Linked DNA regions of Homo sapiens: all the other regions are linked to region 2. The links are contacts of gene promoters, found by promoter capture Hi-C in blood cells and fetal thymus (Javierre and others, 2016). All regions are on one chromosome and are shown on one strand. The core of a region is centred on a gene start or on the middle of the fragment in contact, and the rest is flanking DNA. Distances in the headings are between cores, read along the strand shown. Region 1 overlaps LOC105370461 (a long non-coding RNA gene). Region 2 holds the start of PRPF39 (pre-mRNA processing factor 39). Region 3 overlaps GEMIN2 (gem nuclear organelle associated protein 2).

Region 1 (2,700 bases), core at 174-2,673, 5.6 Mb after region 2:
TGCTGCAAAGACCAGTGTCTCGATGAGGGGAACAAGGTGGCGCCCAAAAGCCCGGAGATGCCAGGAACCACAGAGCATCCAAAGAGGGTGTTATAGCATGTCACAGCTCTGGCTTAGGAAGCCCCAAGGTCTGGGCTTCCAGAAGGGCTACAGCTCTTCTCTCCTTCTCATTGCCTGCAGTGCAGAGAGCAGGGGATGGCAGCAAGTTTCAGTGGGGAGTGTTTAAGCCCATTTGTGTTATAGCTCTTTCAGTCCCACCACCACAACTGCAGCCCGTGGCTGGCCCAGCCCCACTGCTGCTTCCCACTGCATGGGGCGGCCACCCGGCGCCAACAAAGGGTGGAAGTGCTACAGTGTTACAGCAGCTCTACCTCAGGAAATCCCAAGGTCTGGGTCCCCAGAAGGGTTACCACTCTTCACTCTCATAGTCCAGGAGCGTGTCACTGCCTGCAGCTTGGCAAGCGGGCCAGGAAAGCATTACAGCTCCTTTCACACCTACCATTCAGTGATATCCTAGTTCTTGTCCCATGTCCATGAAGAATGAGGTAACATGGACAACTGGAAGGTGAACAAGGCAGAGATTTATTGAGCAACAGAACAGCTCTCAGTAGAGAGAAGACGTGTAGTGGGTAGCTCCTTTCCACTGGCAGGTCATCCTGAAGAGTATCTGAGTCTGCATGAGTCTAGGGTTTTTATGGGCTCAGAAGGGAGGAAGTGCATGCTGATTGATCCATGGGTAGCCATGGGCAGGCATGGAAAAAGCACCGTAAGTTCTCACTCTGGGCCGCGGACTCCACCCGTAATTGGCAGCCTGGCCCCCAGGCTTCAGGCCATCCCTGGCTTCAAGACGGGGTTTCACCAAGGACCTGCCCCTTCCCACCTAGGAATCTGTCTGCCTCCTGTTGCCATCAACATGCCATTTGTGCCCAGGCTGTCCATGCTGAGGGGAGCCCACAGGCCCACACCAAGCTGCCCTCAGCACCCCCGGTCTCCCTCTTGAGTTCATCAGTGCCCAAAGTTTCAGAGTTTCAGCTCCCTCTGAGCTCATCAGTGCTCAAGGCGGCAGTGGGAGTTGGTGTGTCAGTGTTGCCCCAGGCATGCACACACCTGGCTGGGTCACGACAGTGCCTGGGCTAAGCTATAACTTTGCTCCACACCAGAGTGGAAACTGAGAGCAGGGAGAGGCCAGGGAGAGTGGGAGCAGGCACTTCCGAACTTGCGGGGGCAAGAGGCTCCCTGGGCCCCAGAGAGCACAGGGATGCCCAGGTCTGGAGCCATGGCTGGGTGGTTACAGCTGCACCTAGAAGTGCAGGCTCCTGCCCCACCAATTTGGTAGAGTGTGAGGCTTCCACTGGGATCACCTGTTCCCACCCCCTACGGGCTCCACAGAGGGCACAGCCCCAGGTGCACCCCCTCCTACTGCAGCGGCCTTCACCGCAGCAGCTGCTCCAGATGAGCCGCCACCATCACTAGGAGGAAGCTGCAATTGAGATAAAAGCTGTCCTGTGCACTGAAACCTTAGAGATTCTGGGTTCAGTGCACCTGAGGAACTATCTCTAAGGAACATTAAGGAAAGAGTGAGAAGGTTAGCTAGGAATAGAGATTAACTAAAGATCTGAATACAAGAAAACTATACTAAACAAATCCACCGTTTTCTTCCATCTCTGTCCACAGCAAATACAAGGACCCTAGTATTTACCTTCAGCCAAAAATAGTAATAAAAGGATAGGCCTCCTTTGTGGCAAAACTTCATCTCTCAGACCCTTTATGTCTAGGCAAGACCATGTGTCTAGTTTTAGCCAATGAATGTAGGAAGTAATCTGTCATTTCCTTGCTACGGCAATTAAGAAGTGCCTTCTCCATTCTCTCTTCCCCTTCCATTACAAGAGACAGAGAATCACAGGGCATTTTAAGGATGGTATAACTATAAAACAGAAGGAATTAGGGTCACTGAATCATCACATGAAGGAAAGCCGCCTGCTAAGAACACCTTCAGTGGACAGTTAAAGGAGTGAAAAAATACACGGCTATTTTGTTGACATTAAGATCTTCAGGTTTCCCTTTTATAGAAACTAGCATCTTTATTAATTAGAGCCCTTCTTATAAACGAAAGACAGGAAAAATTAACTTTACACAAATCGTAAGACCCAAATCCAACATCAATAATCATGGGAGAAAGTATGCTTTTTCCATAAAGGTGGGTAAAGGGGAAAAAAGTGAATATTTGCCTAATATTTATCTAACATACTATAATCTAGCCAATTATAGACAGAAGATTGTGACTGCTATGTAGCAAAAGCTGATTAATGTAAGAACAACCAAGAGGCTGGACACGGTGGCTCATGCCTATAAACCCAGCACTTTGGAAGGCTGAGGCAGGAAGATTACTTGAGGCCAGGAGTCCAAAACTAGCCTGACCAACATGGTGAAACCCATCTCCACTAAAAATACAAAAATTAGCCAGGTGTGGTGATGCACACCTGGAGTCCCAGCTACTCAGGAGGCTGAGGCAGGAGAATTGCTTGAACCAGAAGATGGAGGCTGCAGTGAGCCAAGATCACATCACTATACTCCAGCCTTGGCAATAGAGCAAGACTCCATCTCCAAAAAAAAAACCAAGAGAAAAACAAAATATTACGATTATCAAATATTGGTAGGAATATGGAAGAGGGAAAGAGAGTAATGTAATTGAAATACATC
Region 2 (2,700 bases), core at 200-2,699:
TGGAACTACACTACCTTCTTCCTCCTTCGGCTATTTTTAATTTTTTTTGAAGTCCTATCTTCCATGTAGATTTGTTAAAACATACCACAGAAAACAGCACATACAATTTTTATCATTTGACTTTTAAACATCTTCTTTCTTATTCAATTATAAGCAAGGAAAAATATTCTGAGACTTTACACAAATAGTGTCTCATACCACCTATGAGCCATCTATGCTCAACCCCTACTTCAAAGTTCACAATCTAAGTACTAGTCCTCTTTAACAGAACTCCTTTCCATCACTTTATCCCTACTAGAGAGTGAACAGTGGAAAGTTCCAACTTTTGCAACTCTAGAATGAGGTTATAAATCTAGAGGGAGGAGGAAAACCTGACAGTAGACGCTTGTTCTTTTCACTCCATTCAAGCTCCCATACAGCCTAAAACACTTAAGTTTCAACATGAGCTTCATACGTCCCTGTCCAAAACTTGCTTTCTCAAGCCTCACGCTTTCCAGCTGTAGCAAAGTTTATTTCTGAACAGATTAAATCAGTTGCTAAATAATCTGAAGTCCTCAAACAGAAGGCCATATGAGTATCAAACGAAAAAAACAACATTTGAATCAGCATAAATTCACATGGTATTATGGCATCATTACTAATACACTGAGCAGTATTATTTATTAACTTCAAGTATTAATTAACTTAAAGATGTGATTTTGGAGAAAAACACCAGTGGTGGTCTCTGATTACCAAAGTTAAACATTCTTAAGCACAATCCCTTAAAAAATCCTGCCAGGATCAATGATGTGTTTTTTCTGTTTTAAAGTATCCTGCCAAAAGCTGTGGGTGCTGTGACTTAGGGTCGCAAAAGTGTTGCTTATGTAGTCAGAAGACAGAACGTGCCCTACAAGGCGCTCACATGCCTTAGTAATAGAACGTATATTATCTTCCCAATCCTCTGGCGGCTGCAAATGTGCTCCTTCCACTTCCAGCCACCCCAGCCGTGTTCCAGCTCCGGGAGAAGCAAGGGCTTTAGAATTACCCCCAAATATCTTCCTAAATCCAGGCGAAGGAGGCCCACACTTCTCCACCCTACCTAACGCACCCCTCAAGTGAAACGTTTGGTCTAAGAAAAAAATACCTTGCACCGCTCCACCCAACAGGTGGGAAGGAGAAAGGAATGGACAGCTGAGCGCTGAATCCGAGCCAGGCCTCAAACAGGGCGGGAGAGGGAGGCCGCGGCCAGAGCGCGGCCTGAAACCCGGCAGGCCCCTTTCAGTACCAAGTACCACCCTCTGCCCCAGCTAATTTCAAGGAGCCCGCCCCAGCAGACCTTATGATGGATGCCACTTGATGCCATGAGCCGGAGCCTGTGACGACCTAGCCGAAGATGGCACTTCACCGCCTCCGTCCCCACAGCCAGCACAGCAGCCGCCACCCGCGCCACGGCCGCCTGGTCCAGGGCACGATGCGCATGCGTCAGTGTCCCTGGAGGCGAAAAAGTCACGTGGGTTCGCAGCGCGCAGGCCTGGCCCTCCCAGGGATCCTCGCTGCCCGTGCGGCCCCAGCCCCGCCCCCGCAGCCCCGCCCCGCCCCGCCGCGAGCGAGGGCGGGGACCGCTGCGCCTACCTGCCTTTCCCTCCATAGGGACTTCCCAAAGGAAAGGAGGGCGTTTAGGGGCTTTCACACGCCTGATCTTAAACACAGCGCCCTGACCCCTCCCCACCAAAAACGGCAAAATGTCATTTTTGGGGGCAAATCTAAGGTTTTCCCTACAATTGTTCAAGCTTTCACACTAAAACATTTACCTAAAAACGGGCAGAAATTCAGCCTTAAACCCACAAATCTCACGATGGTATAGACCCTGGGCCCACTCAGGTTTCCTGAAAACTAAACAGTTCTGGAGTTAGGGGTTTGGAGAACGGGCTATTGTTAAAGAAAAAAGTATTTAGTGACACTTGTTAAAGCACAAAAAGAGGGCTTTATTCAGGACCATCGCAACAGGTATAGGGACCACTGACTGCAATGGAGACTTGCAGTAGGGAAAGAGATATTGGGCTCAACTCCTCATACAGCATGGGCAAGTGGAGATTTATAGCCAAGGAGCGGTGGTAAGTGAATGTATAATTACTAAGAGGAAACATCAGGGTAAGGGGGATTTTGGCTAAACCCACCTAATAGGATTTTTGCTGAAGACAGGCCAAGATAATGAGGCATCACCTGGGGGATGGTGGAGACTGAAGAACCTGATCAGATATTGAGGATGATCAGCTATCAAGGATGGGGGTTTATTGCTAATCTGACTTAGCAAAGTTCTTTGCTTAAACTGGATTTTACAAAGAAAGTGTACAGAAGAGCCTAGCAGAAGATTCAGAAACCTGACTAAAGTTGGCCAAGCAAAAAAAAAAATCTTTGTATCTGAAGGGATATGTTATCCTCTGGACAAATTGAGGGGGACTGTGCGTTAACAATCTTAGCAGTCCTCTTCAGTTGTACCACCATCTCCACTTTAATAAAAAAAAATTTTCTTTCAAATCTGGCCTCTCTCCCTTTAAGATTCTGTTACATTGGTGCCCCCGCATTCACCTGTCACTTACCATGTAATCTGTTGTTCCAGGTGCATTAGTATTACTACTGGGCTCCAAGTTCCTCATCTGAAATCTGTCTCCTCTGGAAATACTTATTTACAAGACGACGTTTCTTGTCACAACGCAGGTT
Region 3 (2,700 bases), core at 106-2,605, 6.0 Mb after region 2:
TGGTTATATAGAAAGAGTACCAAATTAACTTCCCTAAGATTTGAGTCTATTTATACTCCTGTACCACGTCTAAGAGTGCTTGTTTCCCCAGCTCTTGTCAATATGGTGTATCAAACTTTCTTGGCCAATATGTTACCTGAAAAATAGCACCTTGGCATAGTTATGTTATACTTCTATTACAAGTGATTTTTGGCATCTTGTCATATAAGAATAATTTTATTTCCTTTCTGTGAGGTATCTATATCCTTTGGCTATTTTTTCTTGGGCAGGGGAGGGGTGATTCTTGGTCTTTTTATTGATTCTTGGGGCTTTTTACATTTTTAGGAAAAATTAGTTTTAAATGTGAAAAACACAATGTGGCACCATATAGCAAATAATAAATACCTGTTGAACTGAAAAGAACTACATGCTATAGGGAGTAAGCGCTAATGCAGAGGCATGCACTGGATTCTCAAGGAACACCTGCAAACTTGGGGGCAGGTAAATCCTGAAGGACAAGGAGTTGTCTACATAACTTATGATTACAGCCACATGAATTTTAAAGATATCCTCAACATTTCATCTTTAGAATATGTGATTTATTTTTTACAGGCCCATGAAGTGATAGATGTGATTATGCATTTTAAAGCATCTAATTGTGTCGATTTCCATTTTTTCCCTGGCTACTCATAACACTGTTTGCCTGATGCCTCATCATTTAAAAAAACTATGAATCTTATCCAACTCATAAAATGATTACCAAGCCAAACATAAGGGATATGAAGCCAAACTAAAAAAAGTCACAGTAAATTGTTTCAGAAACTAAGCTGTTTTGTTAGGTTGAAGAGCTAATAAACTAAGTCTGGGTTGGCAAACATTTTCTATCAAGAGTCAGACAGCAAATATTTTAGGCTTTGCAGGCCACATAAAGTCTCAGCCACATATTATTTGTTTCTTTTTTACTCTTTCAAAACCTAAAAACAATCCTTAGCTCATGGATATAAAAAAGGCCATGAACTGGACTTGGCCCAGGGTAGAGTTTGCTGACCCCTTATATTAAGTGGTGCACCAAAATTAAAATGCTTTTTGTTCTGTTTATCCACACAGCCCTTACTTGTACATAATCTATTCCAGGACTTTCATTTGTGGCTGGTCCAACAGCCCCGTCAGCACATAACTTTTCACCCAGACAAAATTTCTTCCAGCCTTCTTCATCTTCAGATTTTGGCTAAAAGAAAAAAAAAAAAACTGATTTATTCCTGTGTATTAATTTTTACACTGAACAGTAAAAAAAAAGAAGTTAAGTCCTTCCATATTCCCATTACCGCAACCCAAAGATACGGAGCCAGTTATGGGGAGAATCTCTGCCCCCAAATTTGTATGTTAAAACCTTAAACTCCAGTACCTCAGAATGTGACTGTATTTGGAGACAGGGCCTTTAAAGAAGTGATTAATTTAAATTGAGGCCATTAGGGTGAGCCGTAATCCAATCTTACTAGTGTCCTTATAAGAGGAAATTTGGATTCACAAAGAGACACCAGGGACTCCCACACACAGAGGAAAGACCACGTGAGAAAACAGGGAGAAGGTGGCCCTATGCAAGCCAAGGAGAAAAGCCTCAGAAGAGACCAACCTTAGGCCGGGTGCGGTGGTTCACGCCTGTAATCCCAGCACTTTGGGAGGCCGAGGCAGGCGATCACATGAAGTCAGGAGTTCAAGACCAGCCTGGCCAACATGGCAAAACCCCACCTCTACTAAAAATACAAAAAAAAAAAAAATTAGCCGGATGTGGTGGTGCACACCTGTAATCCCAGCTACCCAGAGGCTGAGGCAGGAGAATCACTCGAGCCTGGGAGGCGGAGGCTGCAGTGAGCAGAGATTGCGTCATTGCACTCTAGCCTGGGCAACAAGAGCGAAACTCTGCCTCAAAAAACAAACAAACAAACAAAAAGAGACCAACCTTGCTGCCACCTTGTTCTTTGACTTTCAGCCTTCAAGACTGAGAAAATAAATACATTTCTGTTGTTTAATCCACCTAGTCTGTTATGGCAGCCCTGACAAACATAGTGCCTAAGTGGCTACACAATATGTGGGACATGTTGTTTTTCCTTATTATTACATTTTTTGAGACAGGGTCTTGCTCTGTCGCCCAAGTTGGAGTGCAGAGGTGTGATTACAGTTCATTGCAGCCTGAATCTCGGGCTCAAATAATTCTGCCACCTCAGCCTCTTGAGTAGCTGGGACTACAGGCATGTGCCACCATGCCTGATAATTTTTAAATTTTTTTTGTAGAGATAGTTGTCTCACTATGTTGCCCAGGCTGGTCTCAAACTCCTGGCCTCAAGCAATTCTTCTGCTTTGGCTTCCCAAAGTGCTGGGATTACAAGTGTGAGCCACTGTGCCCAGCCAAGATGTGTTTAGTTTGGACAAGACTTTAGTGGACACTGACAGACAATGGTGTGTCCAAAAGAGGATGATAAAGACAGAAATAAGTATGGGGGAAAAAATGCACCAAGAACACTTAATAGAATGAAGGATATTTATCCCATGTAAAGAGACATGATTACATATTTCACATATTTGAAGGGTTGTCCAGTCAAAGAAGAAACAGATCTACTCATGCTGCCAGACAGAAAAAGCAGGACGCAGGACTATTTGGGAGAAGCATTCAGCTCAATATAACCTCCTTAACAAAATAACCTTTGTTTGTACATATCACCT

Evidence for each region. Contacts are between HindIII fragments. The CHiCAGO score rates a contact against its expected background, and 5 or more counts as called.
Region 1: a fragment that was not itself captured here is called in contact with the fragment with the promoter of PRPF39 in region 2 in 9 of 17 cell types (total CD8 T cells, naive CD8 T cells, total B cells and 6 more); the score reaches 15.8 in total CD8 T cells.
Region 3: a contact is called between a fragment that was not itself captured here and the fragment with the promoter of PRPF39 in region 2, in 12 of 17 cell types (total CD4 T cells, activated CD4 T cells, total B cells and 9 more). The highest score is 23.9, in total CD4 T cells.

Annotation. Positions count from the first base shown.
Region 1 is chr14:39,439,619-39,442,318 of GRCh38, reverse strand. All of the region lies in intron 1 of LOC105370461 (a long non-coding RNA gene), which reads right to left. Among named protein-coding and RNA genes, the nearest start is that of FBXO33, 8.5 kb to the right of the region's middle. The HindIII fragment of the contact is 8,991 bases long and covers 1-2,700 here.
Region 2 is chr14:45,082,865-45,085,564 of GRCh38, reverse strand. It overlaps PRPF39 (pre-mRNA processing factor 39), which reads right to left and starts at 1,449. Exons shown (of 14, transcript NM_017922.4): 1 at 1,316-1,449. It overlaps PRPF39-DT (PRPF39 divergent transcript), which reads left to right and starts at 1,539. Exons shown (of 2, transcript NR_184211.1): 1 at 1,539-2,093; 2 at 2,178-2,517. RefSeq lists a silencer at 1,455-1,744. The HindIII fragment of the contact is 5,294 bases long and covers 1-1,771 here.
Region 3 is chr14:39,120,937-39,123,636 of GRCh38, reverse strand. GEMIN2 (gem nuclear organelle associated protein 2) reads right to left here. Exons shown (of 10, transcript NM_003616.3): 5 at 1,094-1,207. Among named protein-coding and RNA genes, the nearest start is that of GEMIN2, 8.0 kb to the right of the region's middle. The HindIII fragment of the contact is 5,325 bases long and covers 1-2,700 here.